Regions from separate parts of the Homo sapiens genome. Here regions 2, 3, 4, 5, 6 and 7 are each linked to region 1. The links are contacts of gene promoters, found by promoter capture Hi-C in blood cells and fetal thymus (Javierre and others, 2016). All regions are on one chromosome and are shown on one strand. Each heading gives the region's core, a stretch centred on a gene start or on the middle of the fragment in contact. The rest is flanking DNA. Distances are from core to core; before and after follow the strand shown. Region 1 holds the start of MAST4-AS1 (MAST4 antisense RNA 1). Region 2 overlaps PIK3R1 (phosphoinositide-3-kinase regulatory subunit 1). Region 3 overlaps LOC105379013 (a long non-coding RNA gene). Region 4 has its middle 200 kb from the start of PIK3R1. Region 5 overlaps LOC105379013 (a long non-coding RNA gene). Region 6 holds the start of TRIM23 (tripartite motif containing 23). Region 7 overlaps PIK3R1 (phosphoinositide-3-kinase regulatory subunit 1).

Evidence for each region. Contacts are between HindIII fragments. The CHiCAGO score rates a contact against its expected background, and 5 or more counts as called.
Region 2: a fragment that was not itself captured here is called in contact with the fragment with the promoter of MAST4-AS1 in region 1 in 3 of 17 cell types (non-activated CD4 T cells, naive CD4 T cells and naive CD8 T cells); the score reaches 6.8 in non-activated CD4 T cells.
Region 3: a contact is called between a fragment that was not itself captured here and the fragment with the promoter of MAST4-AS1 in region 1, in 2 of 17 cell types (activated CD4 T cells and non-activated CD4 T cells). The highest score is 9.5, in activated CD4 T cells.
Region 4: a fragment that was not itself captured here is called in contact with the fragment with the promoter of MAST4-AS1 in region 1 in 1 of 17 cell types (activated CD4 T cells); the score reaches 5.4 in activated CD4 T cells.
Region 5: a contact is called between a fragment that was not itself captured here and the fragment with the promoter of MAST4-AS1 in region 1, in 1 of 17 cell types (naive CD8 T cells). The highest score is 5.6, in naive CD8 T cells.
Region 6: a contact is called between the fragment with the promoter of TRIM23 here and the fragment with the promoter of MAST4-AS1 in region 1, in 1 of 17 cell types (total CD8 T cells). The highest score is 6.4, in total CD8 T cells.
Region 7: a fragment that was not itself captured here is called in contact with the fragment with the promoter of MAST4-AS1 in region 1 in 6 of 17 cell types (naive CD8 T cells, naive CD4 T cells, naive B cells and 3 more); the score reaches 8.6 in naive CD8 T cells.

Annotation. Positions count from the first base shown.
Region 1 is chr5:67,001,809-67,005,905 of GRCh38, reverse strand. MAST4-AS1 (MAST4 antisense RNA 1) reads left to right here and starts at 1,752. Exons shown (of 2, transcript NR_111908.1): 1 at 1,752-2,062; 2 at 3,857-4,097. All of the region lies in intron 4 of MAST4 (microtubule associated serine/threonine kinase family member 4), which reads right to left. RefSeq lists a silencer at 1,535-1,874. The HindIII fragment of the contact is 7,419 bases long and covers 1-4,097 here.
Region 2 is chr5:68,268,247-68,271,970 of GRCh38, reverse strand. The region is part of intron 2 of PIK3R1 (phosphoinositide-3-kinase regulatory subunit 1); the gene reads right to left. Among named protein-coding and RNA genes, the nearest start is that of PIK3R1, 54 kb to the right of the region's middle. The HindIII fragment of the contact is 451 bases long and covers 2,199-2,649 here.
Region 3 is chr5:68,432,502-68,436,284 of GRCh38, reverse strand. LOC105379013 (a long non-coding RNA gene) reads left to right here. Exons shown (of 5, transcript XR_007058804.1): 4 at 2,700-2,816. Among named protein-coding and RNA genes, the nearest start is that of PIK3R1, 220 kb to the right of the region's middle. RefSeq lists enhancers at 1,324-1,383, 1,769-2,063, 1,754-2,093, 1,372-2,571. The HindIII fragment of the contact is 1,971 bases long and covers 834-2,804 here.
Region 4 is chr5:68,415,644-68,419,220 of GRCh38, reverse strand. No RefSeq gene overlaps it. Among named protein-coding and RNA genes, the nearest start is that of PIK3R1, 200 kb to the right of the region's middle. The HindIII fragment of the contact is 4,501 bases long and covers 1-3,577 here.
Region 5 is chr5:68,456,717-68,460,364 of GRCh38, reverse strand. The region is part of intron 3 of LOC105379013 (a long non-coding RNA gene); the gene reads left to right. Among named protein-coding and RNA genes, the nearest start is that of PIK3R1, 240 kb to the right of the region's middle. The HindIII fragment of the contact is 1,381 bases long and covers 1,239-2,619 here.
Region 6 is chr5:65,623,029-65,627,097 of GRCh38, reverse strand. It overlaps TRIM23 (tripartite motif containing 23), which reads left to right and starts at 2,765. Exons shown (of 11, transcript NM_001656.4): 1 at 2,765-2,904. The coding sequence starts at 2,824. It overlaps TRAPPC13 (trafficking protein particle complex subunit 13), which reads right to left and starts at 2,071. Exons shown (of 13, transcript NM_024941.4): 1 at 1,992-2,071. The coding sequence starts at 2,037. SHLD3 (shieldin complex subunit 3) reads right to left here and starts at 2,071. Exons shown (of 2, transcript NM_001365341.2): 1 at 1,992-2,071. RefSeq lists enhancers at 2,556-2,635, 2,766-3,095. The HindIII fragment of the contact is 4,327 bases long and covers 1,016-4,069 here.
Region 7 is chr5:68,245,393-68,249,541 of GRCh38, reverse strand. The region is part of intron 2 of PIK3R1 (phosphoinositide-3-kinase regulatory subunit 1); the gene reads right to left. Among named protein-coding and RNA genes, the nearest start is that of PIK3R1, 32 kb to the right of the region's middle. RefSeq lists an enhancer at 1-21. The HindIII fragment of the contact is 6,788 bases long and covers 1-4,149 here.

The sequences.
Region 1 (4,097 bases), core at 503-3,002:
GTACATGCAAGGCAAGTTTTGAAGGAAAACAAAGAATCAGTATTAACACAACTCAAAAGGTGTGCCCCTCTAAAAGTACAACAATCTTACTTTTCTGTGCTGGACACAAATGTGGTGAGAAATGCCTCCTTCAAAGTCATAGTCTCTCAACACAAGTGTCAGCAAACTCTTGGAACTGCCTGTCACTTGTGGCATGAGCTTCATCTTGACATTAAAATTCTTTTTCTTTCCCCATCTTTTCTATCAAATATACGTTACAAAATGAAAAGGACACTCCTGTATTAGTAATAAATGCCAGCAAACCATTGAAAAATCAAAATGACAAAGTTATGTAGATCTGCCTCTCCACAGATAGTATGAAATAGCTAACCTGGGCTATCCTTGCATCGTACATCTGCATCTTATAAAGGTCAAATATTTAATAGAGAGGAACATCTGAAGGGCTCAACGAAAAGTACCAGAAGCCTCAATGACTGGGTGAATGAAATGGATAAACATGATCAGGTCAAAGGGACAGACTTAGACAAAGTATCTCCTCCTCTTTCCCTTTTTCTCCCCCACCTCTCACAAGGAAATGTCTTATTATCCACATTTCAAAAGGAGAAAACCTATGAGAAGCACATTTATCAGGGTTACCCAGGAAACCACAAGGACGAAGAAATACCTGAAACAGTACCCCCTCCCCTAGCGGGGCATAAACTTTTCAAAGTGTCACCCAATACACAAAACCCCAGCTCCTGAGGGGCTCAGGCAGCTCCGCCTGTGGGCCCCTGGGAAGTGAAAGCATTCCCTCTCCAGGCAGAGATCCCCGCGTTTTTACCTTTGTGTTCGCCGAAGCCTGTTCCCACTCCTCAAATGAGGCAAAGTAAAGTTTGAGAGCACAGTCCAAAAATTGGGGTCAGACATATCCATTTCTTTCTCTCTTCAATTCACTGTGGGTTCAAGGCCATATGACTAAAATGGGGAGAGGTAAAAAAAAGGAAGAAAGACAAGGCCAAAAATAAAAAAAAAATCCCAATTATCTACTCACTCCCTCCAGAGAAAATGTGATGGGAACTGTGATCTCAAGAACAACTTGGAGCATGTCTGAGAAGTACCCGTCCCGTCCTAGCCTTTAATTAACACACAGCCTCCTCTCAAAGGTCCGGGAAACTGATTTCCTCTCGGGTCTGCCCTCTCCTAGTCAGGCTCGGCCAGCTATAAACAGTAATTACATGAGTTGAGCCGTGCGTTCTGCTCAAAGCGCTGTCTGTGGGATTCAGTCGGAGGTACTTTGTCATCTGTTTGGCAGATACCACTCGCCGCTTCTGCGAGGGGCGGGGGAGACGACTATTTTGAGGCTTTGGTTCCGGAGGCTGTTGCTTATCAGCAAAACCATTCACATCCGAACATGCCCAGTGCCGAGTTTCCTTTTGGTATCTACATACAAGGAAAAGAATTTGAATAGAAAAAGCTGCTCTTGCCCTCCCCTCCTGAAAAAAGCGGAAACTTAAAAGCACTTTTAAAAAATGGGCCTATTGGAGGACTTGAACCTGACACCTTTGTGGACCCTTCCAGGGTCCGGCTGGGAGGAGGCGGCAGGGCCTTGTCCCTGGACAGCTTGGTGGCCGCGCCCCCAGCTTTCCTGCATCCCCCACCCCCCACCAGCCCCGGCCGCGCCTGAGGAGCGGGGGCTCACGGGAAAGGGAGCAGGCGGCCGCGGCGCGACCCCAGCCGGTGCCGGGACAGCCCCGCAGCCTGGGCCGCCGCTCCCCCTCCCCGGAGCCCGGAATGGATCCGTCCCGGAAATAAATAAATAAACCCGCGGCTGCTCCGGGTGTGTGCTGCGCGCACCTGAGGCCGACCTGTGATTCACCGCGGGAGGGATGGCAGTGACAACGCTCCGGGGAAGTCCACAGTGACTCCTCCGCCAGGACGCCGCTGGTTGTATAGGAAAAGCACGCGGACGGGAAGCCACACTCACCGAAAACCTCAGTAAACTAAATTTATGAGTTTACATCTGTTCCATCAATGACCACGGTGCACACCTGTTTGGCTTCATGGCCGGCAACTACAGATCTAGGTAATGGTGAGCCCCGATGTGGAAAGACACTACCTGGCATTTATGTGGCAAATGCTACAAGTATTGCCCCTTCAAGTACGTTAGACCTTGAAAGGGCAGAATGAAGGGGGCTGAATGTTCTTGTTATTCATTTTGAAGAAAGGCATGGTATTTAAATATCTCCCCCTATCCATGAATGTTTGTATAAAGTACATAAAGAAAAAATATAATTTAAATTAGCTGCCTTAAGTCTGGTGTAATATGGCAAGAAATACTAAATCAAAAAAGTATATATTCAGCAAAAAATACATCTAAAAATGGCTTAGTCCATGCAGTAAATACCAGGAACAAACTCGCTTACAAAAATGGGAGGATAAAGAGAAGGAAGAGGGGGTGTAAGCTGACAAGGTAGGCGGGGTAAACAAAAAGAAGCCTGCTGTGGGATCTTCTTTATCTAATTCTTGTGGCCCACATTAATATTTTCACACCAAGGACTCCAAGAGTTTTGGATGATGTTTCATGTCCAAGGCTTTCGTATGCGTTATCTCCTCACATTCTTACAGAGCCTCCACAGATCCTTGCAACCCACAGAGGTAGACAAAGAAGGCATTATTTTCTCAATTTTACATTTGGGACTTTATCCCAAACATTCAGGGACACTAAATGACAAAACACACTTCAATAGATATTAATGAGCTTGGTCCAGCATTTTTGCCCCATGCTCTTCTTTTAAAAAATGTTTCTAAGTATTGCAAAAGATGTTTTGAAGGCTGACACAAAAGAGTGTCCCTGTGCTCCGGAGCAGTTTCTAGACCTCAGCACTGTTGACATAGGCTGGATAATTCTTTGTCTGAGGAGCTTTCTTGAGCATTGGAGGATGTTTAGCAACATTGCTGACCTCGACCTACTAGATGCCAGTGCTGACAATTAAAAATGTCTGAGGACATTGCCAAATGTCCCTTGGGAGGTAAAATCACCCCTGGTTGGGAACCACTGCTCCAGATAAAGGCTTCTCTGAGAGGGGTGATACAGAGCACTGGTTTAGAGCAAAAATTTTGGGTCTGAATTCTGGATACAACACTTACTATGACCTTAAATCTCTTCTCATTTTCCCCAGCTGCAATATGGGGTCCATAATAGGACCAACCTGTAAGAGGCTGATATACATAAATGAAGAGGAGATGGCATACATAAGCCCTTTCACGCAATGTCTACACACACACTGCGCATAAATGTAGGCAGTATACAGAAGCTAAGAGAATACTATGCTGACAGACATAAGACTGGAGCAGAGGACACCCCACAATGTGCTTCTTTCTACTCTCTAGAGTCTTCAACCAGGCTGCTGATCACACTGTGTATAATTGACTGTTTACTGCTGTCTTTCCAATTAGTCTGAGTTCCTCAAGGCTAAAGTCACATTTTACTGATCTTCATATTTTCAGAACCTGACAGCTCCTCAGTTTATATAGGCATTTAATATTAGTAAATCCTTTTTGAATGGATACTTCAGAAGCCCAAGTATCTCTTATTTCTCTTAAGATGCACTGAAACTATTAGTACTAGTAGATCTGTATTCTCAAAGAATACTGAATTTTTGAGAATCCCATGAAGACGGTAAATTCTGAAGACTTTCTCTTAGTGACTTATTTGTATCTATATCATGTAGCTGGAAAGATATCAGTGCTAACATTCCTCAGGTCTTTACATGGCTCTAAGAAATGTCACAATCAAACTCAAGGGGAATTCCCTTTGAGTCCCATGTCCCCTCCTCAAAGGCAAGCCCAGAGAATAACTTTTTGTGCTCACTTGTAGGTATCCAAGATCAAGAGGGACAATTACATATTATAAGCCGCACAGAGAAGAGTAATCAAGGTGGACATGAACTTGTGCTATATAAGTTATGGGTTGAAGAACTCTGTGGAAAGTAGAGAAGAAAAAATTTAGGGAACAAGCAGTAGTTGAATACAGCTATGTGAAACTATGAGAACTATGTGAAAGAGTGTTTGGATCCAAAGATGAAAGAGCTGACACAAGAGTGGATTTTCTGAGAGCT
Region 2 (3,724 bases), core at 1,175-3,674, 1.3 Mb before region 1:
CCAACAAATTTTTAATTAAGCCTGTATTTCAAGTACTAAAAGTCAACATAGAACAAATTCACGTTATGAAAGTAATGTTATTAAATTTTGATCTCAGAGAAGTATGATTAAGTCATTTTGCAAAAACATTCTTTCAGATTTCAGTATGCAATGTGCAGTACATAGATGGATGCATGATCTTTCCACCTAATTCTATTAGCCATTGCAACTACCCAGGATAAAAAGAGAAGAGCTATATTATGAGGGAAAATCCTACAGTAGCACTATTAGAGCTTTCTGTGATGATGGAAATGTTCTACAGCTGTGCTCTCTGATAAAGCAATGACTAGCCACAGCGGTTATTGAGTAAAATGCAGCCATTCCCAGTGAAGAACTGAATTTTTTATTTTAACTGATTTAAATGGAAACAACCATAGGTGGCTAGTGCCCATAAAATTAGAGAGTATAGTCTTACTTGCCTGCACAAGGGCAAATTTTGTCAATGGCAGATGAAAGATTCCCGAGTCAGCTTTGTGTTAGAGATCCCACTCTAAAGCTATCCCTGAAGACAAGGCATCTTAACATAGAGCTAATCAATATTTGAACTCAAAGCCCTGCAATGTTTACCACTCGATTTCCTGAGTGACTTTGTCCTACTGCAACATCACTGTAACACATCTTAGGTTTCATAGAAGCACAAACGACTGGCCATTAACTTTCCAGTCACTGTGCAGAGGGCTGGGTGGGAACTTCACCTCTCTCTGGTCTCTCCCACACTTGCCAGAGCTAAGCACCACCTGGAGGACGTGCTAGAAATACTGATTCCCAGGTACCACCCTAAATCTTCAGAATCGGAACATCCAGGAATGGGCTAGTAACCTGTTTGGGGTTAGAAATAAGCTTTAGGACATACTCTTTTGATAAGAAAATTCATGTGGGTGATCCTATGAAAAAATCCAGCAATGACATCTCTCAAATCCCTGTATGTTAAAATGTAAATATATCTGAAAAGCACTTCAAATACAAATGTCTTAAAGGTTTCACAGTCCAATTAAAAGCATTATAAAATTTTAAAAGAAATATTATAAAATGAAAGAGCACACCATTTCATTTCCTCTGATAAATTATAAACCACTTCCCTTTGCCTTAATATCAACTCACAAAAGTATCCTCTCTCACAAACACCTTCTACACTGAATACAATGAAATATCATCCTGTCAGCATATATAATAGAAGGGAAATATAAAGGTAGAGAAATGATGTAGAAAAGTGTTATTTATTAAGATCCATTATTGTGTCACTCCTTAGGCCCCTCAAACTAACAAGACTTAGCACACCCCAAATCTCAAAAAGCTAAAGATTAAATAGTAAATACATATCCATGCAACTCTCATGCAACCAACATGCCAATTCCTCTTCCCCTTTTCTCATAAATTACACAGGCATTTTTTTAATTAAAAAAAACTTTAATGTTGGCTCTGAAAATGGAATTACTTAATAAAGGTTTGTCTCATTCCAGAGTCTTATCAACACAATCATTTCTGCAGGCAAATATGAAAGTCAAATTAAATGATAATTAAAGATTTCATCTAATTGTGATTGAAATATGCACCCAAAAGTTGTTATATTGCTGGGCTGGCAAATGCTCCATACAAAAGGATTTCCAGCTCTTTCTTCATTAAGCTTGAAAAAATTTTTTAAAAAAGCAAAACTTCCTTGCTTTCCTTTGTCTTTTCAATGTTTTTTCGGCAAAAAGTGTTAGTTTACCTGCAGTATCCTGAGCTACAAAACATTATATGTTTTACACATTACTCATTCAGGTGTTGGACCAAGTTTCTGAAAAGCACTGTGCTACACCAAGTCAGGATCTGTGAGAACACTGGAACTTTTCTCAAAAGGCACACCAGATTGCTTTAAAAAGAAAAAAAAATACACATGGGTACTAGGAAGTGTAAGTACTCTTTTTGTAATGTATTGAGTGACTCCCCACTGAATTTGTAATATTGAAAAAAGCTTTATCGCTCAAATGTATGAATCATCATAGCTGATCAGGATTTTGCAACTGGAGTTTAAAATGGTAAATTTTACAGGGATTTTTTTTTTTTTAAATAGCAATTCAAAGATTTTCTATTCCTTAGTACAAAATGTCTGCGAGTCAATCCATTTCCTCTTTAAAATATTTAGACATGGTGAATGTGAAAGTTCTACCCAAAAAGCTTTAAAGTTTATATCATCTACTTCCAACAATAGGATCAATTAGCATTGAAAGTCTAAAAAGTCTTTTAAAACAAAATATTAATTTTTATGACAATCCTAAAATCAACTATGCCTTTAATTTTACTAAATACACAAGGTCAAGAATTACTTTTCCATTAGATTCCACTTTAAGAAATTCCAACAGGAAATGACAATTGCTAGGAATTACCAAATTTGGCAAGGTGTTCTTTGAAAAGTCCACAATAAAGCACCATGTTACAAAGTTTGATAAACCAAAAAATAATAGTACTAAAAACAAAAAGATGCAAATATTATCAATTATATAGGGTGGGGTATGGAGCAAACACAAATTAACAGAGCACCATCCTCCAACAGTTTACATTTAAATTCTCATTACAGTTCAGCTTTTGATTTTTATACCTGAATAAGTAATGGGTTTTGGTTGTGAAGCTTGCTGTAGCACAGTGTATAAGTGTGGAGAACCAACTCCACTCTTAAGAATCTGGGCAAATTTGTTGATTCCTTTACTACAACCCAATCCCAGTTTTTCACTAGCTAAATCATTTTTCATTGAAAGAAATCAGTATTGCTTAGGAAGAAAAGGATAAAGATCAGCAGAAAGGTTTAAAAGTAGTGAATCCAAGACACGCATTATTTCAAAAGAAAGGAGGATTCAGCCTTCAATGTTGACCAGAACACCAATGAACTAGGTGTCCCAGGTTGTAGGAAGAATATTTGATGACACATCCGATGCTGCATTTTCCACTCGTTCTAGTTTTCCCCCTTTGCCCTGGTGACAGCCAATCACATGGAATAGAAAAAGAGCCTTCTCTCCAAACTTCAGCCCTTCCCAAACCACTAACATGGACAGGCCTCGACAGTCCTTGGGCACCAGCGGTGTGTGGGAGACAGTGGCATTCTTTGCATTAAGTGATGCCAACACCGTTATGAAGTGCAAAATGAAACCACCACACAGTTGCACCTTCTGGAGGCATTCACCATAAAAAAAGATATTTTGAAGTTAGTGCCTGGCAGGGCCCACTGGAAAGTTTAAGCTGAAACACTGGGACTCCAGAGGCTGCCCAAGCCAAATATTTCATTACTGATGGAAGCAGTTTGGAAGTGTGTGAAAAACTGCCACTTACCTCTAAAAATGTAATACAAAGAAAAGAAAGTGTATATGCAAAGTGTGGATCAGTATTATATCAAGATGTTTGTCTGCTAACTGCTGCTGAGTCAAAGCTGTTTCTGTCTGAATCTCTCTCAGGACTTCAAGTGAAAAATGTATATTCTGGTGGGCAAATCTAATCCCAATTCTTTTCTTAAATAAACCTTTAAAGCATATTCATACTTTATGCTTGTAATGATTAACACCCTGAACTTTAAACTTATTAAGCTTTACGGGTGACACTACAACAAATGATGGCCTGTGCTCTTTGACTAAGCAAAAACAAAGCAAAAAAAACAACGATGACTTCCTTAATTTTGGGACACATCTGTTTAATCAGTAGTAAAAAAGTGATTAGA
Region 3 (3,783 bases), core at 570-3,069, 1.4 Mb before region 1:
TTATTTGTTAAAAATAAAATGATCCTTAAAGGATGTGATGGTCAGCCAAGATACTAGAGTTGTTAGCTTTCATCGGACAAAAGGACTTTCAGTGTCAGCTCTGCTTATTTCATTTAGCTTGGATGGCGACCTACATCTCTCAGCATGAAAGGCCCAAAGCGATGTTTCAGGAAGAATAATCCAAAGAACTACGGGTATCAAACTCCCTGGGAACTTGTTAGCATACCAATCCTGGGCTGAGAATATGATTTTAAGGGGATTGATGCTTTAGAATTTCTGGACTAAAGGTTGCTGTTTCTCTTGAAGTGGCAACTCCATTTGAGTGGCAGGTTATCCTGTCTGTCATTACCTGGAGAATTATACAGAAATCTTCTGCATAGCAAGAAGTCCCACCACACTCAGGGCATTGGGGAAATAGGGTGGTGGCAAGCCTATGTTCAGTTAGGGGGATCCCTGCCCTGTGCTGCCGGAGGAAGTGCCCTGTGCTGCAATGAGGAAGTTCACTGCTGTCTTTCTCAGGAACTCAGACCAACATGAAAATAGGACTCCTGAACTTAGAGCCTATGTTTTGTCCACAAGATTATCCAATCTGCAACAAGCACCAGAACTTGTCTGAGATCCTGAAATCCAGAGAGCCTAGCCAGCTGGGCATATACCAAGCTCTAGCATAGGAGAGAGGCCAGCTACTCAGCCAGGGCACATGGCCCTGGGGCAGCCTGGCCCTGGACAGGTGGAGCCAACCTCTCCAAGAACTTTCCAACACTCCACCATTCTCTGTTTACCCCAGAGGCATATTAGGCTGACTGAGACATCCTTGAGAACACAGGGAAGCTTCAACTACCTATGACTGAAATCATGATCATCATCATCATCTAGTTCTAAACAAAATCATCCTAGGAGGCAGCATGCCCTTGTACAAATTTCAAATCTGATACAAATAGCTGTGTGGCGTTAGGCAGATTCCCTCTCTGTACTTACGGTTCCTCATCTATAAAACAGAGTTAATAAAAGAACCCTAATCCCAGCACTTTGGGAGGCTGAGGCGGGCAAATCACGAGGTCAAGAGATTGAGACCATCCTGGCCAACGTGGTGAAACTCTATCTCTACTGAAAATACAAAAATTAGCTGGGCATGCTGGTGCGCACCTGAAGTTCCCAGCTACTCGGGAGGCTGAGGTAGGAGAATCGCTCAAACCCAGGAGGCGGAGGTTGCAGTGAGCCGAGATCGTGCCACTGCACTCCAGCCTGGTGACAGAGTGAGACTCTGTCTCAAAAAAAAAAGAATCCGTCTCTTAGGTTCGTTGTAAGAATTAAATGAGACAATGTGTACCAAATTCTTAACAGAGTCTGGAATATAATAAGTGTTCTGTAGACAGGGCCACAGCTAGCATGCAGGGTGTCTTTGTGGTAATTGGAAAAGGGTGTGCTCATTTGGGTAGACACATTAGAAAAAGATGTCCCTTCCTCTGGGCTGGCTCAGGCTGGTGCCTGACTTGGGAAGCAGAGTTCCTCCCTCGGCTGGCCACCCTTTGGCTGGTCACAACCCACAAAACTGAAGGTGGAGGCCCTGTCCGTACATGTTTGCTATGGTAAGTACCAACAGTTCTTGCAGACGGACAACTGTGTGCGCTCTCACTGTGGAGGCCCCCTTGGAGGAGGTAGCTGACTCTCACTTCTCAGAACCACAGTGCTAGGCTCAGCAGAGTCTCATCTTGATAAACTTCTGTGAGAACAAAGGCATGGGGACACACTGAATTTTCCTTTTCTGAGCTTGAAACCAGCTGATCATGCTTCCTGTTTCTCTAAGGGCTTCCCTGACATAGACGACTTGCTTCTTTCAAATTTGGTCATCGCCCTCTTGCCTTCCTGTGTGAGTCAGCGTGGCTGCCCTTGTGCACGCCAGGCTCCTGTCTGTGCTCCGGGGCCTGTTTCCTGGCCTCCCCAGGTAATTCCCCTCGGCCAAGGGTGAGCGTCCCCGCCCACGTCCCCTCTGCCTGGAGACGTGCGTGCGCTGGGGACATGAGTCACAGCAGCCCGCCCGTCCTCTGCATCTGAAACTATTATTGGAATGCCTCTGCGCACAGCACATGCCTGCTTCCCAGATTTCACAGGCCCCTGCTCAGGGATCTGCAAACCACATTGCTCAGCCCGAGATTCCACGCGGGTGATCACGAGGTGGTTTGCTCTAAGCTGGAACTTTTCTAAGAAAGTAGGTTTCTTTAAGCCAGGCATTCTGCATTCTTCAAAAAGCGTCAACCACATGTCTCCAGCGAGCGCCTAGCAATGTGCCTGCCTTAATGGGTAATGCAAAATAAATCGTTCTGGAGCTCTGAGAAGGACACAGTAAAAAGAAGAGCAAAAATGAGCATCTCAAATAAGAGATGTGGCAGGACAGATCCTTATGGGCCTGGAGAGTTAAACCCACAAAAAGAAAGGGAAGAAAGAGGCAGAAGATCGGGAGGAGGACCATGAGAAAGAACCAACAGAGGCAAACAACTTGAACAAAGATGCAGAGGGAGAATGTGTCGGACTTGTTTACAGGAACCTAAACACGGAACCAAATTTGAATTTTGAAGATCCTTCTCTTTTTCTCTTGCTAGGATGATTAATAGCCTCTAGTGTGAGAGAATTTGTTGTTGTGAGGTGATAAAACTGCTTTGAATGCTATAAGGTATACAACTCTTGTCTCCCTTTTACAGATGAGGAAACTGAGGCACAAAAAGGTGAAGTCCTGAGCTCACAGTCATGCAACCAGCAGGTGGTGAAACACACCTCCAAGCTGCCTGCCTCCTAAGCATCAAGCTTTGTGGCCCAGGGTGAGAACAGATTTTTGTTTTTCCAGGTGGATATTTGAAAGGGAGGAGCTAAGGTTAGTTCACTGATCCTTCTTCCTTCTCTGAACTCCTGATGCAGATTTCCCTTCTTCCATGCTAGATCTTGGTGTATGTCCAGGTGACTAGGATCTCAGGATCTCAGGCAAGTTCTGGTGCTTGCTGCAGGTTGGATAATCTTGTGGACAAAACAGGCTCTAAGTTCAGGAGTCTTATTTTTATGTTGGTCTGAGTTCCTGAGAGAGACAGCAATTAATTTCCTCATTTTCCCTATTTGACATGGACACGAGAACATGAGACTAACAAAGAAACAACCTTTTGCTAGACCATTTTCAGATCCTATGAAAGAAAATGATAAAGAGAAAAGTAGCTCCTGGGGCAAAGTGGAAGCAGATCCTGGAAGAAGTTGCAGGTGGGCTTATGTCAGAGGCGCCCTAGCAGTAGGTGTGCGAAAAGAGAGCAAGGGAAAGATGGGAAGTCCCTCCTCAAGCAGCAAACGCATGTGGCATCCCAGCATGGCTGGAAGCCACCTCTATCACTTCCTTCCGCCAGTGACAATGAAACGGAAAGGGAGCTTGTGACTCACTTCACCTGGCAAGGTGGTGCTGGAACAGGACACTTCCGTGAATCAAGGCTGATTGATCTTATTCTATTTCTAGACACATATCTTACCCAGAGTGCCTCTCCTTCTGAAAGAGTGGCCACCTCATAAAAGTGAAGAGAACACTGTCAGTGGGAATGTAAAACGGTGCAGCCACTGTGGAAAAACTTATGGCATTTCTCAAAAAATTGAAAAGAGAATTACCATATGACCCAGCATTTTCACTTATAGGTATAATATATACCCCAAAGAGTAGAAAGCAGGACTCCAACTGATGTTTGTACACCATGTTGATAGAGCATTATTCACAGTAGCCAAAAAAATGGAAGCAACTCCAGTGTCCATTGATAG
Region 4 (3,577 bases), core at 519-3,018, 1.4 Mb before region 1:
CTGTAATTTTAGGTTTGTATGCAAGGAACAGAAAAATCCAAAATTAACAATCTTAAACAAAATAGCTCAAGAAAAATGAGTGGGTTTCTCTCGTGTAAAAGAGTGGAAAAAAGCAGCACTGGGTGGGTAAGGGGGATCTGCTCCTGGAAATCCTCAGAAAATAGTTCACCGTGCTGTTACCTGTATAGTGTGGCCTCATTATCATAGTCCAAGGTGGCATCTGTTTCCAGGCAGCAGGAGGGGTGAAATGTTGAAAAGGCAAAGAGCATATGTCAGCCAACTCTCATATGAGGGTCCCAGAAGTTGCTCTAACATTTTTGCTTACTTCTCATTGACCAGGACTTAGTCACATGACTACACTTAGCTACAAGGGAGGCAGGGTAACGTGGCAACATGGTCTTTATTTAGGACAATCTTGTGTCTGCTGAAAATTCTATTACCAGAAAAGGTGAAAATGAATAGTAGAGGACAACTGGCAGGCTCTGCCACAATTTTTTAAAAAAATAAATTTTGGGGGGCGTTTGGTGGAATGAAGACTATGTATTTCTAAGAAGCAAACCAAAGATTTGTCCCTAAAGTACACATCATTACCTGTCCAGATACAAACACACGAATTTATATATATGTAAATACTTGAGCAATAGAATTATATTTTAAGTCAAGTAGACAGAGTAAAGAGTTTATTGGGAACATTTTTAAGCTATTTCTATAAATAGGAATGACTTGTCCTGGAATGTTTCCTTCAGGATTGCAATAATCTTCTGAGCCATTAAGTTAGTCAATGACCTTGAGCAGCTCAGCTAGGCACCAGATGATGAAATCTCTGATATCTCTGGGGTCCCGGTTGGCAGAATCATTTCAACTTAGTGCTAGGGAACAATGGCCCATGGACTAGCAAGTCTGCATATTCCCTCATAGAAGAGTAATCTATTGCGGGAGACTTTGACACCTAAGTTTCGGCAAGCTGTGGGGAAAGTATGAATACATGTGTGTTGGTACTTGTGCAGACTGGAAATCTGTCTTCAGGAATTAAATGAAGCACTGCATGAAATAAGGCACTTAATAGAAATTTCTGGTGCCTTTGTCGGCAAACCTATCCCTTGGGTGATGGTCTCTATCCAACAGAAATCAAAATAAACTTTTGGGTTTTCAGGTTAACTTTTTTAAAGGGGCATAAAACATTTTTATTTAATTTTGTTCTTTTCTCTTTTCTGTATCAAACAAGAAATGATTTTTTTTTTTTTTTTTTCCACCAGAGGTATTAAAATGCTGCAAGGGAGCAGCCTCTGGCTTGACCAGAAACACATAAACTTGAAACTGTGAATGTTGGTTTGCACATATGTTAAGTTAAAAGTAATGATATATTTTCAAAAGTCATTACATTTTTTAAAAAAACTTTGTTAGCTAAAGCAGAAAAGTAAAATTCAATTAGGAGCACACCTTAGCAAAAAAAAAAAAAAAAAAAAAAAAATCTTTTTACCTATGATGATCACATGCTTTTATAAGGGTCATCTCTCCACAGTCCCATAATCCCATTATAAGAGCCCTCTACAGTACATTTCTGAATGCCAAAAAGTTATTTTATTAACTGTGCTTAGACGAATCTATTAACAAGGTCCAATAGTCCCAGGCAAAACAACAAACTAGGAAGATGTTGTGCAAACATGGATGTGTTCTCTAATGTGTAGAATTTCTGTGATAGTTTTGGCTTTGTAATTTTGTACATTACTACAAGCAGTTCTGGACATGAAACAATTACCTTGTAATTGAGCTCCGCTACTCAGTTTCTATGTCTGAATTTGCATTTATGTTCCTATCCCTTTAGCATTACTGAAGACCAAACGGCATCATAGCATGATGAGTAGAAGCAGCATTCACAATTTAAATGAGGAAACTGAATAGTGAAGAAATTGAATACCCTCAGCAATTGGCAGCCCAGTCATGCCTTGTTCAAAGACTCAGTCACAGTGGTCAGCATCAAGACCCTGTGGCTAGCAAACATGTTAGTGGGCACCCATCTTTGTACTCCAGCACATCGAGCAGTTCATAAGGGGGCAGTACAGGTAGTTACAAAAAGACAGTGGAAAACTCCTTATTCAGTGGAATTCAATGGGTTTTTTCCTGCTAGTATTGCATTTTGAAACACAGTTTTAAGTGGCCCATGAACCTAATTGGTTTAAAATGAGTTAATTTTTTAAAGAAAAATAACAATAATGTCTTAAATAATGCCTTATCAAAAGCAAAAGAATCAAGTCCAAAAAATGAGACATAAAGCATGCAAATGCATTTGTCTTATTAAATCAATCTAGATGACTCTGTTTCAGTAAAACAGAACCATCCTTATTAAATTACTTTTGCTAATTTGAATTTATAGTTTTTATAGCTTATTTCTTTGGGATTTAGAGTTGTACTACAGGTGTGTACATGTGTTCAGTACCTATAAGCATTTTCGTAATTAAGTAAAATGATAAAACACTGAAAATCCTGAAATGTCAAATTTTTCCTTTAAAAAGAGACCATACAAATAGTTTGCAAAACACAGACCAAAAGGGTAATTTTCAGTGTCTCCTTTGTCTACATTTCAGCATCATTTCCCACCAGGACTTTCAGACCCACCTGCTTCCCTCCCACAATTCCTCCCACAATTGTTAAGGAGCCCCACAGCTGAGCCCAACCAGCCTGAGCCTCACCTAACTCAAAGTCACCCTTTCTGAGTAGGAGACAGACTTTAACCCTAATGAGCACTGGTGAAATGTCAGAAGGTTAGTTTAATAAACAAGGTACAATAAATGAAGAACATTAATTTATATTCAACACCAGAAAGCAGAGATGAAGCAGGTGTCAGTCGGCCGAGGGCCAATCCTATAGAGTGATCATTTAATACATTGAATTGGAAATGTCATTGTAGCAACTGGGGCACATAAGAAGGGTTCTTTTGAAAGTTTCCAATAATCAAATTTAATGTGGCCTATTATAATTTTGAGTCTTTCTTAAGGCTCACAAATTAAATTTGTTATCCATTTGTGTATATATTTTACTATCAAACAGCTTTTCATTTTCCTTGACTTTAATGGGCCCATTCTCCTCTCATTCTTTGGCTATACCCATTCCTGCCTTTATTGTCCCCAAAGCCCATTACCTCTATATGTGTACACTTAAACTCATACACACACACAGGCACACACAGTCCTTGGGGAAAGAAGGTGTTGATAAAGTGTATAAAATACTTGGGAGCAACAAGAAGCAGAAAAAAACTGAAGTCAAGGTGAGAGAAAAATTAAATGCATTTTATTTTCTTTGGATACCAAGCAGAAATTTTTTAATTACATATTTTAATTCATGACTTTGCTTTTCTCCTTCTGGAACACAGATGTGGTTGTTGAGCAGCTTTCTCTTCTGTCTCACCTTATTAACATCCTGAAATAATACAACCTTCAGCCAACCGCTGGACTGCCTGAATTGTCTTTTTTGCTGGAGATCTTGAGTCTTACAGGTTATGAATTGCAGAGCCAACATGAGAGGACACTTCCTTTTTCCCGCCCTCGCAGGAAGTTGTTACACACTGACACTGGGAAGG
Region 5 (3,648 bases), core at 680-3,179, 1.5 Mb before region 1:
AGGAAGTTGCCTGTAGAGGGCACTAGTCAGTTAATAACATCTGAATCAGTTTGACTTAAAAGCAAGAAAGGACCTTAGGGGTCACATAGTGGATCCCTCTCTTACAGAGAAGAAACTGAGCCCTAGTGAGATTAGGCGACTTGCTCAGAATCACACAGTTGGCATTTTCACAGAGCTGAGATGGAAAAAAGAACTCTGGTTCATGTTAAAAAACAAAAACCAAACCCAAAAACCTTACAAAGGCCTAGAAATTGAATTGCATTTAGTTGTTCTTTTAATGAATCACCCACCGTGAAAAATAATAAAAAGATTACCACCACCATAAAAAAGGAGACCATCCTAGGAAGCCTACTCTTCAGGACACTAGGAGACAATTAATTCCAGTGTCACTCCCAGCCACAGGGTTATTCAGTGAAATTCCCTTGGCCCATAACCATTTTGTTGATAACCTTTGCTGTCTAAACATCCCTTTGCCAAATTTACACGGCACTCAGATTGCACTGGGGGACAGGATGGTATATAAGAGAGGGGACGGACTTGTTTTTCTTCCTCTCAGCCCCATCAACAGCAGTTAAGTGTCAACCAATGGATTGGATCTACTTCATTCACTGGTTAAAATTAGGCAAACAACTGGACTGGCAATGAGGCTCCCTGAGGCTGGTGTCTGGTTATTTCAGTCACCTTACAATCAGATTAGATCTATCCACCTTGCAAGATTGCCCCTTCCTTGCCAACATACTAGAAACCAGTTTATCTGTTCAAATACTGCATATGGACCCAGACTCTGTAAAACCATGACTAGGATGTTTGATGTGTTATCTTAGGGTTTTTCTGTTTGTTGCTGTTTTGAGAAATAGACATGTAGGTGGTAACATGCTGCAGTAGAACCATCGACTTTGGAGCCCACTAGACAAGGCTTAAATTCTGCCTCCACTTGTGTGTCAGCTGGGTCTCCTCACTGTATTGCTTGACTCTGAGTATCAGATTTCTCATCACGGTATTTACCTTACAGACTGAGGATTAAAGGAGAAAGTTCATATGAAGTGCCTAGATCAGCACCTGGCACTGTACAAATGAGTCTCCCACTTGAAGAATATGGCTGGCTTTCAGAATTAGGAGAGAGTAAGCAGTAGAATTCCACCATGTAATGAATTCAAGGTCATGGCTATTGAAGGAAGGTATTGTCTTTAAAACGTCCCATGAAAAATAGCTTAGATAAACATTCTAGTAGATAAGCTTCAGAAAAGTAATTTTTAACCTACTCCAAACTAATGCCATGGTGTTCTCATTGTTCCTCTACTTTTATAAACAGTGGCATTACTAAATTACAGCCTAAATTCCCCCATGCATTTTAGTGGTGATCCAAGAGCATGCTCAGTTAAAAACATGGGTGGAAGGATTTAGGAGAGTTAGCCACCTCTCCCTACACAATATTTCTAGGGTGCAGAGACAACACTTCTGCTTCCTTTTAAACCCAGTATTTGCTTAGTTTTCAGAAAGAATGAGGCAGTCCCCAAAGGCATGTTGGTCTAAGCATAGAAGCACCATAGTGATGGCATGTTTTCCTAGTTTTACACAGTTGATTTATACCCACTGAGTGCATAGTATGTCTAGGGCACTGGTCATGTATTATTTCATTCAAACTCTACCACAACTTGATGAAGGAGTCACTATTATCAACTTCCATATATTGATGGAGAGGCTGAGGTTTGGAGAAAGTATGTTGCTCACCCAGGTCATGCAGGTGTCAGTGTGGTGAAGCCAGGATGGAGCCCAGCAGCAACATCCGAGCCCCTCCTTCTTCCTGCTGCCTCTTTAGTCTCTTTTTTTTTTTTTTTGTATTTTATTGGCTTTTCTGAATGTGGTAATAACGGGCAAAAGGGCAGGGGCAAAAAATCAAGGAACTTAAGGAATTCACTGAGATCTAAAACGTATTTATATCCACACAGTCTACGTTAACATGATTTTACTATTCCAGGATCTTCATCAGCATAACTTTACTGTTCCAGAAAACTCTTCCTCAAGAAGATAACAGTTACAAATAACTGTATTGTTCATTCCAGGAATTTCCCCAAAGACACATCAACTCGTCAATAGAAAGCATTCAAGGAAAATTTTAAAATTTGAGCATTTCCGAGTCTTTGCCCTCAAAATCTTCATCTTGTGTTTGCCCATTCTAAGTGATTAGATTATGGTCCTCACTAGACCCCAGCCAGGGCTCCCTGGCTCTCACACTAAAAGATACACATTGGAAAAAATCCAGACTTCACAATCTCAAAAATACTCCCAACTTTGCTCCATCCCCTACCTGCACCCCGAGACTCTAGTGAGATTTTTTGTAAATAGTGTTCTCCATTAACTTTAAGCCATCAGTTCTCAACTGGGGATGATTTTGCCTCCCAGGGGATATTTGGCCATGTCTGGCAACATTTCTGGTTGTCATGACTGGGGCTGCTCCTGGCATCTAGAGGGTAGAAGTCAGGAATGCTGCTAAACATCCTATAATGCACAGGACAGCCTCCTCCCCTAATAAAGACTGTCCAGAATCAACAGATTATTTTAATAATATTTTGGAGAGCCACTAATTAGCAATATCTCAGTTAGTGCTACGAAGAAGCTTCCCAAACTCTGAACCCTTCTGGTTATGTTTTTACTCTCTTGATTGCCAGTGTTCTTGCAGGTTCATGAGCCCCAAATCCATGAAGCCCGTCCTTAAGAAATTTCATTCCCAGAGGCTAGACTGCAGACATTTACCTACTCTTCTTATGATGGGGGTTTCCATCTCCTAAGATAGGATCACTTGGTGGCTCGGTTATTTTTTTTAAGACAGGGTCTTGCTCTGTTGCCCAGGCTGGAATGCAGTGGCGCAATCACGGCTCACTGCAGCCTTGGCCTCCCGGGTGTCAGGCGATTCTCCTACCTCAGCCTCCCGAGTAGCTGGGATTGCAGATGTGAGCCACCGCACCTGGCCAAGTTATCTTTAATTTCTACATTGTGTATTGTGTATCAGCTGTTTGAAATGATGAACCTGAGTCCACAATTTTTTTAGAAGATGCTGTTAACTATCTTAATAATGGCAGCATTCCTGAGGTTGTGAAAATGACTTTACTGAACAGGAAGCATGTTTTCCTTATAGACAAATAGCACGAATTCATATTACTTATAAAAGATACTGCCTCTTGAAATTAGCACTTTGAATTTCACCTTTTCGTCTAGATATTTCCACTGGTAACAAAATTTCCCTGGAAGTCAGTGTTTGGAGTTATAAGATCAATTTGTGACCCAAAAATATAAACGGTCTACCTTTTATCCTGTTTGTGATGAGTGAAAGGCAAAAGTAAACAGAAAAAAGAAACCTGATATGACTTCACTCTTGAAATATTGTGCAATGATTTTCTGAAGGTAAGTAGCAGGCTTTGTATCTTGAGAACCTAACGAAGTTAAACAGCAGTCCTCACTCTGGGCACAGAAGTCACAGCTTACAGTACTGGAATGAGGCCCAGGATGATGTCATCCTGGGCAGAGACCTTATCCGTAACCCCACAGTGCATTTGTATTAGGCAGTGATGTCTCTGTCACCAGGAACTTCACTGAGCCTTCCTGAAGCTCTCAAGCATGTCATAGAAATATTGTCCATCTCAAAATTTG
Region 6 (4,069 bases), core at 1,516-4,015, 1.4 Mb after region 1:
TGCAGTGGCGCAATCTCAGCTCACTGCAGCCTCTGCCTCCCAGGTTCAAGCGGTTCTCCTGCCTCAGTCTCCCGAGTAGCTGGGATTACACCACCACACCTGGCTAATTTTTGTATTTTTGGTATAGACGGGTTTTCGCCATGTTGGCCAGGCTGGTGTCAACTCCTGATCTCAAGTGATCTGCCAGCCTCGGCCTCCCAAAGTGCTATTACAGGCGTGAGCCACCACGCCTGGCTTAGGCTGCTTAAATATTCTTTCTTAGGTATCCTTGGTTTTGGAAAAAAAAGAATAACAGAAAACTAAAAATTCCCAGTGGCAGTCTCTGTATCACTGGAATTTAACTTTTTGTTTGTTTGTTTTTTGAGATGGAGTCTCGCTCTGTTGCCTAGGATGGCGTGCAGTGGCGTGATCTCGGATCACTGCAAGCTCCGCCTCCCGGGTTCACGCCATTCTCCTGCCTCAGCCTCCTGAGTAACTGGGACTACAGGCGCCCGCCACCACGCCTGGCTAACTTTTTGTATTTTTATAGAGACGGGGTTTCACTATGTTAGCCAGGATGGTCTTGATCTCTTGACCTTGTGATCACCCGCCTTGGCCTCCCAAACTGCTGGGATTACAGGGGTGAGCCACCACGCGCGGCTGCAATTTAACTGTTTTTAATAGCTTCTAATTTGTATAAATCACACGTAGCAGTTAATAGAACTGTTCCAAATTCCCATCGGAGTAGCTGGTAGAGGAATTATCTCTGAGAATGCTGCTTCATTCTTTAGGAGGCAACACGGACTCTTGGAAAGAGAGGCAGGCCTTGCGTTGAAACACTGCCTCAATCACTAGCTATGTGATCTTGGAAAAGTTACTTAAACTCTGAGAATTAATATTTACTCCACATACTTGAAGTGAGATTGTGAGATAAAGAACACGACAATTAGTTGCTTTTCTTCTTTTCCCTCTTCTCCACGAGTAACAATCCATTTTAATCTCCATTTTAGTCTAGATCATTTGCTCAGGTTAAGCTTACAGGTCCCATCACTGTATCACTAAACATTACAAAGTTCCACAGTAAGAGACAATCTCGCTAACACAGGCATCATTATATGAGACTGATGAGCTTCTAGAAAGTCTGATGACTACATCATAATGGGAAGGATAAGGCGTTCCTCAAAATGGATGCCATAAGTAAAGTAAGCGCAATTCAATTGAACCCGAATGTTTATTGAGCATTTCCTCAGCTCATTCAAGAAGTCATTGTTAACCATATATTAAGGCATCCAAGAAACAAAAAGCGCATTTGTTGTAGTAAAAAACAAATAAAATAAAGCTGAAAAGATTTCAAATAAAAGGTTTCCAGAAAATAGGCATTAAAAAAATTGTCCTAAAAAAAAAAGTGCTGCTGTTTTTTCCTAAATAATGATCTAATTAAATCACCAAACTTACTCAAAATGGCTGTGTACAAAAAATGAGAGTTGACATTAGATCTCGGACATATTTCCCACATACACAGTGATTTGAAGTAAACTGCAGTTTGTTTTGAATAAATCTAAGTTATATGTTGTATTACTATGTATTGCTAAATTCTCTGCACTACTGTCATGCAATACTAATTTTACAGGGGAAGCTGAAGCCTGATTAACTTCGTCAGTGCCACAGGAAGAAACAAGAGACAGAAGGAAAAAGCACTTTGGATGCCCGCTGTAATTCACAGAGATCTCCACGGTAGGAGCGGGACGTCAGCTTCTGCGGCTAAAATCTCGTGACTGAAGCAGCACAGATCAGAAAGAACGATTTACCAGGTATCTATTTCGTTCTAGAAAGGGGCCCATAAACCTAAAAAGCATCCAGGAGAAATCGCTTCCTCCCGCTTGGCGGCAAAGGACAGAGCAGGAGGGCGAGCACTGAGTGTTTAAGAAGGATGAGGCCTACATGGCAAAGGCTTCGATAAGTAGGGAATGCAAGGAAACAGAAAAGGGGGAATCAGGTTCGCAAAAGTTTACCTTTTAGCGCCAGCAGGTGCTCCTGTTTAGGGGGATTCACTTCCATTTTGACCGGCACTTTTGACCCACAGCCTACGGGGGCTGGACAGGTTCAACTTGCCCCGGAAGGAAACGGAAAACCTCGCGTTTGGCAAAACCAAAAGTCAAACGCACTCTCAACCTCTCTCTGGTGGTGGTACCTTAAATTCTCCTACTGTGTCCTTTACAAACTGGCTTCTTTTCAACAAGTCCATTTCTTCTATCTTAGAAACGTAGGCATAAAATACTTTGTTTTCCATCTGCAATCACACATCGCGACTGCAGGAAAAGAAACCACCCCTAGGTAACAATACGCGGCCTCCCAAAGGCCAACGTTGCCGGAGTTTTTTTTTTAAAAAAAAAAAAAAAAAAAAAAAAGAGAGAGAGAGAGAGTGGCATGCTGGGATTTGTAGTTTATACAAAAACCGCGTTGCATGCAGGGAGATGCCCGTACCCCCTCACCGCCCTCAGTTCACGCCCTGGCTGGTTTGGATTCGAGAGGAAAAATCATTAAAGGATCTGGAGTTTTCACCCCAAAACTTTAATCGTTTTGTCCCTTCTTTTTTTTTCTTGTCTTTCCTCCAGCAGCTGCAGACTACATAATGAAAAATAACAAAAGTGCCCATGCGCGAGGCTGTGCAACTAACCACCCGACGATTGCGGGGAGGAGGAGTAAGAGTCGGCTAAGCGGCGCCCAGTGTCCTACTGCGCCTGTGCGCCGGTGGCGTGCGCAGAGGCCTCTGGGTAGGTGGCTCAACCCCGCCTCTCAGTTGAGGACTCTGAAGGCTGTTTCTGTGGCGCTTCCCCTGCGAGGATGGCTACCCTGGTTGTAAACAAGCTCGGAGCGGGAGTAGACAGTGGCCGGCAGGGCAGCCGGGGGACAGCTGTAGTGAAGGTGAGGGACCTTGCGTGCTCTATTCTCCACCATCGGCCTCCCTTCGGTTCATCCTGGAGACCTGGCGGCATCGCCGCGGCCCAGGCTTCGATAGGTGGGATGCGCGGCCTCTGGGCCCCTTTTGGCATTACAAGTCTCGTCCTGTCCTCTGCATCCTTTCTCTCCTATGGCCTGAAATTGCCTGGTCTTCTGCTCATGACATGTCATCATCGGGACATTTGTGAAAAGGAGCTTGCGGGCCAGTGGCAGTGACCTAGACCGGTCTTTTCTCCAGGTCCTCTGCTTTTAGTTAAACTCAACAGACATTAATTAGCTTAGTATTATAAATTGAGTCATCATCATCGTAACTACGTACTAAGTTAGGTGTTTTAGCTCGTTAATATCTACTTATGAAGTAGATGTGAATTCCCATTTTACAGGGAGGAAACCCAGGTTTAGGTAAACAGTGTGTGGCAGAGCCCCGGGTTGACCGGCTTTAAAGTCTGTACTTTTCGCTCTTGTACTGCGTCTGTAATCAGACATCTGTTATTGGGTGAGCTGCCCCCTCCCCTGTTAGTAGTACAGTCTATTAACTCTTTGCACAAGTCTGCAGCATCGTCATAGCTGGGCATTAACGATAGAGTTTATGAATTTTCTTATGCTTGAAGTTTGAGATTCTACCATGTATACATGCTCCAGAATCAATTTGCTAAAAAATCATTTGAAATATGTGGCACTCATTTTTCCCTTCCACTGTTGTGCACGGAAAGATATGGAGGGGAGAACTGATCCCATTGGTTTATAGAGTAACCTTCAGGAGCATCTCTAATCTAAGAGATTGATAATTCTCATTCCTGGCTACATATTAGGATCACTGAGGAGTTTTAGTACACTACTGATGCACTCCTCCTCCAGTTCTGATGAGGTTGACATCAGTATATTTTAGGAATTACCAGAAGTTATTTTAATGTGCAACCAGGGTTATGAATTACTGATCAAGGTAATATATGAAGTTTTTTTCACATCTTGAAAAGTAGACACCTATGATTATTCAGGTAATGTTGGTTTTATATGACAGCAAATGAGACATTTCTTCCCACAATTTAGTATCAGTGAATATTGGTGGTTGTTGATTCAGATGACCTTTAGGTACTAATGAAGTTATTCTACAGGTACACGGCATATC
Region 7 (4,149 bases), core at 1,035-3,534, 1.2 Mb before region 1:
TTAAAAAAGAAACAATTTAAATACTTCAATGTGTGTTTAACTGGATTTTGTGATAGGACCACTTAGTGCAGGGTAGATAATATGTCCAGGCAGTATTTTAACAACCCCGTACATCTGGTTTTATGGAAATATAATACAAAAAGACCAAGAAGAGATACCATGATATAGAACTGATGGTTGAGAGAGTAAAAATTAAAAAGGGATAAAAGTTGATTGAGTAGAAAAAGCAGAAACAAAAGTTTCACATGCACCTAATTCTACTCTTCTTTGGTGGTTCCAGGAACAAAACCAACTGGAACAGGAAAATGACTCTGAATTTTAAATAATGAGTAAGCATATATTCCTTTTCCTAAAGGAAGAGACAAAAATAGAAGAGAAAGAAGGTATCATTACTGGTAAATGGGTAGGTCTTGACAGAAGGAAATTACACAGCCTGATTATAACAATGCATTTCAACCTCCCTACATAAAATGCTCATGTCTTAAATTCCTTGGTAATATTTATGAAGCTATCTTATTTCCCCTCTATCTCACCTTTTTGAATCACGCTGCAATACTATGTATTAGCCTAACGCTGACATCCATAGCAGTATGCTGGAAAATGCAAACATGTTCACTTCCTTCAGAAAATATCTCTTGGTTTATTATGGCCTCACTCCAACCACTCTTCTGTTTGGTTTTTGCTTTTATTATGCTCTACTCATTTAAATTCATCAATATGTTGCTTTGTAACAGTTTACATTTTTTTTGCACACATATATAGGTGTACTACATAAAAATTGAAACAAATAACATATAGTTCTTCCAATTTCCCTTGTATGACCTCTTTCTTTAGTTGTTACAGTGCTTAGTTCCCAGTGGTGGATAAATAATTTTGCCAAAACAATTGACCAAACATGTCATGCCAACAAAGGGTATCAAATGATTATCTGGGTAGTGCCTTAGAATTCCAAATATGAACAGACGTAAAGAAAAAATAAGGACACTAACAAAACAGTATTGGCTTTATTCATAAATTTGTTAGGATGTCCACCAACACACACAATCACAAATAGATTACTAATCTTTGGTAATCTTAATTTTCTCAAGAATTGAAGGGTGTTTAGATACAGAGGACAATGAGGGGAGGTGGATTTAAGATAATATTAAGAATCAAAAACTGCTATGCTAGTGTTTTATATTTAAATCTAAGTCATCTTAGTAACTGAATTCATATATCTATCCAGATAGTGGGGAAAACACCATTAAAAAGAACATTGTTGGCCAGGCATGGTGGCTCATGCCTGTAATCCCAGCACTCTCGGAGGCCGAGGCAGATGGGTCACTCTTGAGGTCAAGAGTTCAAGACCAGTCTGGCCAACATGGCAAAACCCCATCTCTACTAAAAATACAAAAATTAGCCGGGCTTAGTGGCATGTGCCGGTGGTCCCAGCTGAGGCAGGAGAATTGCTTGAACCCAGGATGCAGAGGTTGCAGTGAATTGAGATCCCGCCACTGCACTCCAGCCTGGGCAGCAGAGCAAGACCCTGTCAAAAAAAAAAAAAGAACATTTTCCCAGTATGGAAATACTTGAGAATTTTCAAAACAAAAAACTGTTTTTGTTTTATCAAATGCACCTTAAGGACATTCAATGACTCTGGGGCAATGATGCCGTTTAGGGCAGTTATCTTTGTATGGTGCCCATGATCTGGAAAAACAGGCCCTGGCACCAAAGGCCAACGTCACCACTGGCCTGTCCCGTTGGGCAGGAAATAATGGATTTCAGAGGCTGGAATGAAGGAAAGCCCAAACTAACAACAGAGTTAGAAAAATGTTTTCAGCCTGTAGTCCCAGCTACACCAGAGGCTGAGGTAGGAGGATCAGGTGACCCCAAGATGTCAAGGCTACAGTGAGCCATGTTGATGCCACTATACTCCAGCCTGAGTGACAGAGGAAGACCCTGTCTCAAGAAAAAAAAAAAAAAAAGGCCACGTGCAGTGGCTCACACCTATAATTTTAGCCCTTTAGGAGGCTGAGGCAGACAGATCACTTGAGACCAGCCTAGGCAACATGGTGAAACCCCATCTCTACAGAAAAATTAGCCAGGCATGGTGGCGCACGCCTGTAGTCCCAGCTACTCAGGAGGCTGAGGCGGGAGGATCAACTGAGCACAGGAGGTTCAGACTGCAGTTAGCCGTGGTGGAAAGAAAGGCAGAAAGACAGAAAGAAAGAAAAAAGAAAAATGTTTTCAAAATCAATCAAGCCTCTAAAATGTGTCCAATTAAAATCCACTGATCTATTAAAATGGAATTCTATCTCAAAAAATATAATTTTAAGAGAGACCATGAGAGCAGCATACCTCCTCTACTCAAAAAACTATTATGACTTAGAGATGAGCCATGATAAATTCAAAGCACAGGGAAAAGTTCCATATCAAATCACATATTTCCAAGCCCCTTATCCAAAAGCACCGCTGAAAGAATTCTATTTCGATCACACTACTAACTACCTGTGAGAACGGCAAACACCTTTTAGTTTTAGTTCTTCCTTTTTACCAATAGGTGGCAAGATTTATTGCTAAGACAATTTAGGCAAAGGATTCAGCTTCAGAAAGACTGCCTTTCCTCTCCCCTCTTAAGGCTCAGCATTTTTTTTTTTCTCTTACTAATGAGCTATTTGACAGTAATCATAAAACCAAAATATTTGTTATTTATTAAGCTACTGCAATTTTGGATTTGTAAAGGAAAAAGAAGTCCTGGAAATCTTTTAAAAAGACACACAACGTGGTGGCAGGCGCCTGCAGTCCCAGCTACTCGGGAGGCTGAGGCAGGAGAATGGCGTGAACCCAGGAGGCGGAGCTTGCAGTGAGCCAAGATCGCACCACTGCACTCCAGCCTGGGCGACAGAGCGAGACTCCGTCTCAAAAAACAAAAAATAAAAAAGACACACATGGACGGGCGCGGTGGCTCACGCCTGTAATCCCAGCACTTTGGGAGGCTGAAGCGGATGGACCGTTTGAGGTCAGGCGTTCCAGACCAGCCTGGCTAACATGGTGAAACCCTGTCTCTACTAAAAATACAAAAATTAGCTGGGCGTGGTGGCGGGCACCGGTAATCTCAGCTACCTGGGGGGCTAAGGCAGGAGAATCGCTTGGGCCCGGGAGGCAGAAGTTGCAGCGAGCCGAGATCGCGCCACTGCACTGCGGCTTGGGCGACGAGTAAAACTCTGTCTCAAAAAAAAAAAAAAAAAATATACACACCAAGTGGACAAAGCAAAAGAGACTCTGCAGGGAAGGGGATGGCTAGGCATAGTTTTGACATTATTATGACTTCCAAATAAGGTATAAAGTATAGAATACACCCATACAGCATACTAAAGACTTTGGAATGGCTCACAACCAAACTTGTACGGTAATGAAGATATATAATGTAAAAAGAATACAGGTGTTTACCAGAAAACATCCTTCAAGGGACAAGACTTATAAATGCAATGGAAACTGTCTCAAGAAACAAAACTTTATTCCAGTGGTCTCTTTGGGGAAACATGTACACAGCTATTCAGCAAATTCACTGTCACCTTCATTGCAACTGAAGAGAATAAATACTCAAGTATGTGTCTTAGAAAGAACTGGTCAGTCCATGCTTACTAACTTATGTAATTCTGCAATAATCTAACTTCATTTCTTCTTTGGACAGCCTCAAAAAAGGTGAAGAAGAGTTCATTACTACTCTCCATAAAACACTGCTTCATATAATTTTCAACTGTTTAAATTGGTCCTTGGTCTTTATTTTCTGTGGCTAAACAATTTCAATTCCTTTCATTTTCGTCAGGTTTAAATGCATTGCTTAAGTCTAAAAAGTAATTTTTTTCATGTTTGTCCCAAATGTATTTTTTAATTTTTATTTTTGAGTGCCTCACTGAAATCCTTGGCTTGGTAGAGGTCATCAATTCTATTTTACAGATGAGAAAACCAAGGTTAAGTATGTTACCGTCTTTAGGTCACACAGCACATTAGTCACAGCAATTAGGACTAACGGTTAGCCAAGGGCATTGTTCAGAACTCTGAGACGTCCAGCCTATTTGCAAGTGCTCCATGTAAGCAAGAACAATGAATGGAAAAGAACAAAAGTGCAATGCTGCATTGGTGATTCTATAACATCAGCAACAAACT